Regions from separate parts of the Homo sapiens genome. Here region 2 is linked to region 1. Evidence: promoter capture Hi-C in 16 types of primary human blood cells and fetal thymus (Javierre and others, 2016). All regions are on one chromosome and are shown on one strand. The core of a region is centred on a gene start or on the middle of the fragment in contact, and the rest is flanking DNA. Distances in the headings are between cores, read along the strand shown. Region 1 holds the start of ZFC3H1 (zinc finger C3H1-type containing). Region 2 overlaps GLIPR1L2 (GLIPR1 like 2).

Region 1 (5,157 bases), core at 1,903-4,402:
AACCTTTGAGCTCCCATAGTACTTTTTTATATACATACTTCAGTTTCAACTTTTTATACTAAACTGCAACTACTTATTTTCATTTGTTTCCCTAATACAAACTACAGGTTTCATCTTTGTACCTTTAAAAAACACATATAAACTGGTGGCTCTCGCCTATAAATCCCAGCACTTTGGGAGTCTAAGGAAGGAGGATCTCTTGAAGCTACAAGTTCAAGATCAGCCTGGGCAACATAGCAAGACTTCGTCTCCCCAAAAAAAAATTTTTTTAAATAAATTTAATAAAAATTTTTTTTAATTAAAAAAATTTAAAAACCATCCACATTGGCTGGGCACGGTGGCTCATGCCTGTAATCCCAGCACTTTGGGAGGCCGAGGTGGGCGGATCACGGAGTCAGGAGATCGAGACCATCCTGGCTAACATGATGAAACCCTGTCTCTACTAAAAATATAAAAAATTAGCCGGGCGTGGTGGCGGGCGCCTGTAGTCCCAGCTACTCGGGAGACTGAGGCCGAATGGCGTGAACCCGGGAGGCGGAGCTTGCAGTGAGCCGAGATCACACCACTGCACTCCAGCCTGGGCGACAGAGCGAGACTCTGTCTCAAAAATAAATAAATAAATAAATAAAAACCATACACATATATATGCTTAAATAGCCTTTCTGGCTTTTGGATTCAAAATAGACCACAAATCCATGGATTAAGAAACACCGTGGGCAGAGGTTTTCTAACCTTCTTGGAAGAACCATTTGCTGGCTTTTAAAAAGTTAAATATCTATATAATTTTCCTTTTTTTTTTTTTTTTGAAACGGAGTCTCGCTTTACCGCCCAGGATGGAGTGCAGTGGTGCAATCTCTGCTCACTACAACTCTGCCTCCCGAGTTCAATCGGTTCTCCTGCCTCAGCCTCCCGGGTAGCTGGAAATACAAGCACCCAACACCACGCCTGGCTAACTTTTTTATTTTTAGTAGAGACAAGGTTTCACCATGTTGGCCAAGCTGGTCTGGAACTCCTGATCTCAAGTGATCCACCGCCTCGGCCTCTCAAAGTGTTGGGATTACAGGCGTGAGCCACCACGCCTGGCGCCTACATGATTTTCTCCGAAACAATCCTGAAATACTCCTAACCCAACTTTTGGTTGCAGAAGTAAGGTTTTTCAGGGAACTAGCATCAGAAGCTGCTGTTTCTCACCTAAATGTACATTCCTTGCCCCTTTTACATCATGACATTTGAGAAAGACCTATTCTGGACCTAAGTGTTCTATAAAAGTAATTCTGATTGTCTTCCAAATAACTGTCATTACTTTTAAGTTTCATATATAATAACGAAATTAAAAATCATCACACTATGTGAATTACAACCAGTAATGAAAGTCTTTAAACAATTTTTGCAATGATCACAGATTAAGTCAAGATAGTGTTTTACAAACCCATTATAAAACAGGAAACCTTCGGATGATTGATTCCTCTGTATAAATGCTGAGTAAACTCAGTAATGTTTAAAACTGAGAATAAGGTTAGAAGTAGGAAAAATCTGGAATGTTACTATTTCCTTTCTCAACTTACCCGTAATCTCCACCCTCGCATACACATTCCTCCACTCTAACGTATTAAAATAAAAATGCTGATAAGTTTATCTTTCTCTCTCTGGCCCTCATTTAGTCAGCACGAAGTTACACAATGTGCAAAAGTGAACACAGATAGAAACGTAAAGGAGGTAAAGTGTTCCAAAAAGATCAAATGAATCAAAAAGCTCTGAAACAGACTTGGTAAAGACACCAGAGTTGTTTTTTTTTTACCCCTCCCCCCCCCACTTTAAAAGGCAGCAACCGGAATAAATCAAGATAAAAACAGAATCACAAAAATAGTGCAGGACTGTGCAGATTAAAACTTTACAATTTTCAACGTCAAACTGCAATATGATAAAGCAACAATATTACTTAAACTGTTTATGAATATTTTTTCTCTAACAATCCAAGTCAACTTCATATAAAACACAAAGTTTCTGTACCAGCAAAAATACAAATGCTAATGAAACTTGGGCTTCTAAGGTATTATTACAAATCAGACTTAACTGTCTTAGATTTCATAAGCTTAACCCAATCCACAGCACGTTAATATACCCAATGAAGCAGTCTTAAGAATAACGCTATAGTGTGACACATGGGGAATTACCAAAGAACAACTTAAAGTATACTGACACAGGGAGAAATAAGCGGTTCTGATGATTCAAAGTTACACTCGTCTCACAGACCTAGTAATGACGCTAAAGGGAACTTTAGTGACACACCCAGCGCCGACCGCCACGTTAAGGATACAGCTCTTCCGAGGTGGAGAGGGCTCTCGCCAGCTCTGACTGCTGCTGAACCCGGATCCTGCTCCTCCTCCCAGAGGAGGTCTGCACCCCGGCTTGCCTCCTCGCTCACCCACTCCTCGCCCCCGACTCCAGCGACTCCCACCCCGGTAAGGCCTGCCTCGAAAGCGGAAACGGTCCAAGGCGAGGTGGCTCCGCTCCCAGAAAGACGGCCGGGGACTGCTTTCGGACAGTGAGCTCGAAGGCATCCGTACAGAAGGCGGATGAGACCGGAACGGTTCTTTGGGTCGGTAGCTGCTGGGTCCCCTGAGGTGGCCCCGCTCAGACGCGTGCCGCGAGCGTGAGAAATTCCTCAGCTGCTGCTGAGAAGAGGACGATGACGAGGAAGAGCCACCGCCTCCGCCAGATCCACCGCCCCGGGCCGAGTGAGGAGGCCTTCGCCGCGGATAGGGTAACAGCCCGCCGCCGCTGCTGCTGCTGCTGCTCCGACTCCGTATCTGGCTGTTATTATCGTCGTCACTGATTTCCCCATCTTCAAGCTCCCCTTCTTCCTTCGGCGAGAGGCCACTGGAGGCCGGGGCCGGAGTATCTGCGGTCGCCATCCGGGGAGCAGCGCCTTCCACACAACCTTAGCCCTCCGTCCGGGGATCCGCCCGACAATTGCCTCGTTTCCCTTCTTTCCTAACGGACTGGGTCGGTGCGGTCTTACCCTACTCGGACACCAAGCGGCCTCTGCTCCCCAACTTCCCCGCACCCCAGCACCCCAGCTCTCTCTCGCCGGACCGTCGCAACCCAGTTCCCTTTCCTAGCGCCCCCTTGCTCCTCAGCGATCGGGGTTCTTCCGCCTCGCGAGAAAGGGACTCTGGTAGCGGCTGTACCCGAAACGTCACTTCCTGCGACACGCAGGAAACAAAGGCTCCCAGTTCACGCGATAATAAGACCAACTCGATACTCACTAGGATTTGTAGTCTTTCGTCTTTCTTCGGGTTTACTCTTCCGGTCCTAGGGTCACACCCACCGCAGGGTCTGGCTTGGTACAGTTGGGTGCATGCAGAAGTAGGTGGAGCTGCTGTTGCAGCCTTGAGAGAGTTTTATTGTAAAACTCTTGTAATTTATAGTAATCGGAGGGGAAAACACCTCTTCCTTTTAATTGCTCTGAGGACCGCTGCCAAAGAAACGCAGTAGATCCGCTCCCTCTTGGGGGCGGGGAGAAAGAACGGGTTGTGTCCGCCATGTTGGTGAAGTCAAGCGAAGGCGACTAGAGCTCCAGGAGGGCCAGTTCTGTGGGCTCTAGTCGGCCATATTAATAAAGAGAAAGGGAAGGCTGACCGTCCTTCGCCTCCGCCCCCACATACACACCCCTTCTTCCCACTCCGCTCTCACGACTAAGCTCTCACGATTAAGGCACGCCTGCCTCGATTGTCCAGCCTCTGCCAGAAGAAAGCTTAGCAGCCAGCGCCTCAGTAGAGACCTAAGGGCGCTGAATGAGTGGGAAAGGGAAATGCCGACCAATTGCGCTGCGGCGGGCTGTGCCACTACCTACAACAAGCACATTAACATCAGCTTCCACAGGTAACCTGGGCAGGGAGTGGGGGTGACGGAAACTGGAGTTCCTATTGTGGCTATCGCTTGTGTGGAAGGAACAGGAGGATTCTGCTAATTCTAATAACTTTCCCAGCTGGTAGCAGGGAAGCATCGTATGTCCTTTGTGTTTCTCAAATCTGCCCAATTGTTCTCTGCTTTCGGGGAAGCTTTACTCATTTTCTAAAAGAAATCCAAGTACTGTTTGGTCATTACCCCTTAGTAAAAAAAAGTAACAGGAGGATATCGTAATTTTCTACTGTTTTATTCCTCTGTTAGACCGGGCCTTGACATGAATGACGCCGTAAGGGAGAAAGAGATCTTCCCAATCAGCAATCACCGTAAAAGCCTGCTGTGTTCCCGTTAAAATTAGGAAATTCTCACTAGATGAATTGACATGGGAGGCATTTAGATTTCTAATAGTCACATAGTAATTCTGCGGAGGAATTGAGTCATCTTTGATAGCCATGGAATTAAGCGATGTTAATTAAAGTGCAAAAGATAACCTTTCTGTTCTTACTAGAATAGAGTAATAAAAAGAACCTAGGTTTTCTTTTGTTTGCTGGAAGAAAAATCAAAATTCTTTAGTTCTGTCAAACCAGAACTCTTGAAAGCACTTTGAACAATGCCTGGAAAATAACAGGTACTCTGTAAATGTTTACCTTCTCTGCAAGTGCCTGCCACGTGCCCGAAGAAAAGACACATTAAAAAGTTAAGTGACACCAGTCCTGATTTTATATATTTTATATACCTAACAACGTATATGTTAGTATGTAGAAATTATATCCTTGACCTTTTTCCCTACCTATTACGAACTGTACTTTTATTAAAAGCTGCCACTTAAAAAAAATCTTGTGATGTTTCTGTTTTTAAACTAGTTCATGCATATGTAGTGCTTTGTTCATTCATCCATCAAATATGTACGGAGTTCCTAATTACCTGACATTGTGCTAAGGATCCAGAAAGTTCTAACCCTCCTGGAATTTAGAATTTAATGGTGGAGAAAGACATAAATAATTAAGTGCCACAGAAGAAACATTCAGAGACCTAACTTAGTCTTGGAAAGTCAAAGAACACTTTTTCAAAGGATGTGACATTTCAAATGAGACCAAAGGATGACAGATTGGGTCCTGTGTGCTACTTAAGTATTTTCTGTTTTATCCTAAGAGTACTTGAGAAACCATGGAGGGTTTAAAAAAGAATGGCACGATTAGATTTGCATATTGAAAAGTCCTCTGGCTGCAGTGTAGAGAATCGTAGTGT
Region 2 (5,157 bases), core at 1,295-3,794, 3.7 Mb after region 1:
CAGCCTTTAACCCTGGGGCTCAAGTGATCCTCCCATCTCAACCTCCTAAGTACTGGGACTACAGGTACTCACCACCACGCCCAGCTGATTTTTGTATTTTTTGTAGAGGCAGAGTTTTGCCATGTTGCCCAGGCTCGCACCTGGCCCATTATAATTATTTATGCTAGCAACTATTACTTCTTGTATTGCACTACCACTTTCTGGAATCAGTTTCCTTGTGCCTAAAATACGTCTTTTAATAGCTCATTCAGCAAGGGAGTGTGAATAGTAAACTTAATATTTCTATATGTAAAATAATCTTTACTTCACACTCTTGAATGATATTGTTCTCTCTCAGCACTATCTTCTGTCTCCCACTGTTGCTTTTGAGGTTTCTTTTGTTAGCTGAACTCAGAGGTTCCCACAGTATGGTTCCTATACCAGCAACAACAGAATCACCTGTGAACTTGTTAGAAATTAAAGTTCTCAGGACCTATCCCAGACTTACTGAATCAGAAATCCTGGTTTTGAAACCCAGTACTCTGTATTTTAATTAAAGTCCTCCAGATGATTCTGAAGTGTGCTAAAGTTTGAGATCCACTAGTCTTTTGGTTGTTATTTTAAAGATGATTTATATTTTCTCTCCAGCTACTTTAAATATTTTATATTTGCTGTTCTGTAGTTTTACCCCATACTAGTACTAAGCATGCATTTATTTTTATTTATTTTGTTCAGGACTTTTCTTTTTAATCTCTGTATCCATGTCCATTGTTAAGACTAAAATTCTTCAGTATTATTTCATAGAATGTTGCCTCTTCCCCATGCTCTCTAGTCTCCCTGTCTTGAACTCCTATTAGATGTATGTTTGACTTTTTCATTCCTTTTCTCCACAGCTCTCCATTTTCTCCCTACAGTCCATCTCTTTTTCTGTTTTCCTTCAGAGTCATTGCTTTAGAACTGCTGTTCATTCACTAGTTTTCTCTTCAGATTTTTATGATATATTTAACTGGCCAATTGATTTTTTAAAATTTCTAGACTTTTTTTTTAATTTGCTCATATTCCCCCAGTGTCCTGTTTTCTCTTATGATTTCTATTTTTACACTCATTTAATCATTTTAAACATAATTATTTTATATTTTCATAAAATATTTTTAGTGCTTTATTATTTTAGTTTCTTTGGGTGCCAGTTCTCTTGTTTTAGCTACTGAGCCTCTGTCATGTTTATAATTTTCTATCCTATGCTTATTTTCAGCAGAGATTGTGTGTGTGTGAAAGAGTCCCATATTGTCCAAATAGTGGAAAAATAAATATTGCTACAGACTAATTTTTATTAGCTTTTGCCTTACTCCCCTGTTACAGTCAGTTTTACATTTATATTTTTTATATTTATAATGTGTTAAGTTTTGATATTTAAAATTTGTTTGGGTATTCTCAGCATATATAGGCAATGTAAGTATAGTGTCCACTTGTAGGCATAGGATAGATCTAGAACTGATTTCTCACATGACATGACTTTTTTCCATCTGACTTTCTGTCACTTCCTCAGACTTCTAGGAAGGGTTTGGTGGTCTGCTTCATTTAGGAAGAAGTCGGCATCCTGATTTTTCCGCAAATATTTCAGTCCCAGAACTTGTCTTAGATGGTTCTATGGCTACATCTTCTTCCTATATTGTTGGCATTTATATCTAATCTGATATTTCCTCTCCTCCGATTAGGCACATGAGTTCACCACTCGGACTTTTAACTTTTCTCTTCATTTCTGGCACCTGAGTATTACCTTTCCTTCCTTTGAGCTCAGCTGTGGATTTAAAAAAAAAAAAAAAAAAATGCCGGGAGCGGTGGCTCACGCCTGTAATCCCAACACTTCGGGAGGCCAAGGCGGGCAGATCACTTGAGGTTAGGAGTTCTGACCAGCCTGGCCAACATGGTGAAACCCTGTCCCTACTAACAATACAAAAATTGCCGAGCGTTGTGGCAGGCGCCTGTAATCCTAGCTACTCCGAAGGCTGAGGCAGGAGAATCGCTTGAACCCGGGAAGCAGAGGTTGCAGTGAGCTGAGATCGCACCACTGTACTCCAGCCTGGGCGATAGAATGAGACTCCATCTCAAAAAAAAAAAAAAAAAAAAAAACTTTTATCATATAAAGATTGAATTATATGAATTGCTCTTCAACCATTTTTGACCTAGAAAACGCAAGCAATTTCATAGGATTTAAACTAAACATTTTATTCCCATTTTTATGGGTTTGTAATATTAGAAGATTGTGTCTTAGCTTCGTCCTCTTTGTTGCTTCAACTTTCTTACATTCTTGGATGCTAGGAGCACAGAATCCCTCCCTTCTTTTTCTGAGCTGTTCTGGGGCTGAGTGATTCCTAATTCTAACCTGACATGGTAGTACTAGGAGAAGGCTCAAGACTTAGACTCCTCTCATGTACCAGATAATGGGCTGTAGTTTTATATGTAATATCAATTTTTAATTTAATATTACAAATAAATCTTCCTCCTTTTTTAAAAAAAGAAAGAACAGTGCAGTCAATGTTAACATTTTCTAACAGCCACTTCAGTTATGTTCCCTTTCTCCATCCCCAGAGAAAATAACCTTTATGAGTTTGATATGAATCATTCTAATACATTTTTTAAGGTTTTGAATATATATGTGATTATCTAGACCAAAAACACAATGTTTGGAGGTTTCCGTCTTATATTTCTATAAGTGGCATTATGTGGAATTTATCATGTTACTTGGTTTTTCATTCAAAACTATACATTTGAGATTTATTTGTTGATATAAATCTAGTTAATTCAGTTTTATTTGCTATGCTATTTATCCCTTAAATGTACTACCTTTTTTACCTATTCCTTTATTGATGGACATTCAGGTTGTTTTAAAAATAAATAAGCATAGCCAGGATATTTTGAAAAATGAGGGTTATTGAACATATTAGATTTTATAGCATATAATAAAGCCTCACTAAGTAAAATAATACAGTATTAGTATGTTAAAAGATATACCATTGAAAGATATAGAGTTCAGAAATAACCCAAATATATGAGTGTTTAGCATATGATAAAAGTAGCATCTCAAATCTGTGAGCTATAGATAGACTTTTTAATAAATTGGTGTTGATCAATCTGGGTAGTCATTTGAAAAAGGTAATATTGCTTCATCCATACATCAATATAAATTCCAACTAGTCAACAATTCCCCACAGACAAGACAACAAAACTATTGTTGAACTTTGGAGTTTTACTAGCCTGATAGGTAAAATATGATCTGTGATTTTTATTTCTCTTATTATAAGCAAAGCTGTGTATCCTTTCATGTGAATAAGGATCTGTTAGTATCCTTTAATGATTATTTTTCTATTAGTTTTTTTGCCTTTTTTTCTCCCATTATTTATTTGGGAAATGAGCCCTTCGTCTTTGGTATGAGTTGTAATTATGTTCCCAGTTTGTCAGTTTTTTAAATCTACATATGTATTTTTTGCTATTCAGACTTTTTAACATTTTTGTGTAGCTGACTAATCAGTTTTTTAAAATTGCTTCTGGATTTTGTGTCAAAGTCAAAGACCATGCCTACTCCATGTACTACTGGTGTGAAAGCAAAATGATATAGTCCTTGTAGAGAAGAATCTGGCAATACCTACTACATTACAGATGTATTTACTCTTTGGCTCTCTGGTCCCATTTCTGGTATCTATCCTAAGGACATACTATACAAGAAGGAAATGGTATCCCTAAACGGTTATTCACTGTACCATCATTTAATATTAACAAATTATTGGAAAGATACTCTAATCTCCAGCACTGAGGGTTAACTAAAGTAAGTGTGGTTCACCCACATAAAAGAATACCATACACCTGTGGGGAAAAAAAAGAATGAGAACGTTTTTTATTTTTTTATTTTTATTTTTTGAGACAGAGTCTCGCTCTGTTGCCCAGACCGGAGTGCAGTGGCGCCATCTCGGCTCACTGCAACCTCTGCCTCCTGGGTTCATGCCATTCTCCTGCCTCAGCCTCCCGAGTAGCTGGGACTACAGGCACCTGCCACCACGCCCGGCTAATTTTTTTTTGTATTTTTTTTAGTAGATATAGGTTTTCACCACGTTATAGGATGGTCTCAATCTCCTGACCTCGTGATCCTCCCGCCTTGGCCTCCCAAAGTGCTGGGATTACAGGCGTGAGCCACCGTGCCCGGCCTGAACGTTCTTTATACTAACAACACAATATCTCATGGATCTTGGAAAAGCAAGGTACATTATGATACGTTTTGTATACGAAAATTTAAAATAATGTATATTTGAATAGAAAATAGTGGACAGATCCACGGAATTAATTAGTTACTTATAGAAGTCCTGGGGAAATAGGATGGTGGAGAGCAAGACAACATGACTTCTCAATGATTTTATGTGATTTTGTTTTTATAAAGTATTAGATATCTGTTCAAAAAAATTATTTTTAAAACAAAATATTCTTTAATGCGTGTTGATAATTTCACTGGAGATTATAAGTGATAAAGCATTCATGAAACAAAAAATATATACAGCAAAAAAATGTAACGGCAACAATTTAAAACAATATCCTCAGTAAAATACAGTATTTAGTGTATTAGGGCTAGCATTCCTGAAGTCTGATCTTTGTGTACGATGGCATGAAATGGGCAAACAAAACATCAAAATGGAAGTGAGCATAATTTTATATATATATATGTGTGTGTATTTTTGTTATTTAATCATATGTAATTTTAAACATGGTAATTGAAGTTAAAGATAGTTAAGATAATCATAAAGATTATCATAATGATTTGATGTTGGTGGCTAGCAGATGGGAAAAGTTACTTGAACTTCCAGATTTACAAAAGAGAAGTGAGCAATACAAAGAAACTTCATCAAGCCTGTAATATAAGGAGGGAAAAATAGGAAATGACTTTTAAAAAACTGTAAACATAAAATAATATTTTAAAATAAACTAAATATGTTATCATAAATATGAGTGAATTTAATTTCTTTATCAATAATTTGCAAAAATATATACCTGAAATGATTGAAAATAAAAATATGAATAAAAATATTTATGAAACTTCCAAGTTAAAAAAGAGAAACAATATTATAAAATAATATAGAAATGAAGACTAAAGATAAAAAGAAATACTATGTATTGGAAAAAAAAAGGTATAAT

What was found. Contacts are between HindIII fragments. The CHiCAGO score rates a contact against its expected background, and 5 or more counts as called.
Region 2: a contact is called between a fragment that was not itself captured here and the fragment with the promoter of ZFC3H1 in region 1, in 1 of 17 cell types (non-activated CD4 T cells). The highest score is 5.7, in non-activated CD4 T cells.

Annotation. Positions count from the first base shown.
Region 1 is chr12:71,660,696-71,665,852 of GRCh38, forward strand. It overlaps ZFC3H1 (zinc finger C3H1-type containing), which reads right to left and starts at 3,153. Exons shown (of 35, transcript NM_144982.5): 1 at 2,318-3,153. The coding sequence starts at 2,915. It overlaps THAP2 (THAP domain containing 2), which reads left to right and starts at 3,606. Exons shown (of 3, transcript NM_031435.4): 1 at 3,606-3,885. The coding sequence starts at 3,815. RefSeq lists enhancers at 2,776-2,895, 3,248-3,806, 3,256-3,615. The HindIII fragment of the contact is 1,665 bases long and covers 2,091-3,755 here.
Region 2 is chr12:75,396,243-75,401,399 of GRCh38, forward strand. The region is part of intron 1 of GLIPR1L2 (GLIPR1 like 2); the gene reads left to right. Among named protein-coding and RNA genes, the nearest start is that of GLIPR1L2, 7.7 kb to the left of the region's middle. The HindIII fragment of the contact is 8,872 bases long and covers 1-5,157 here.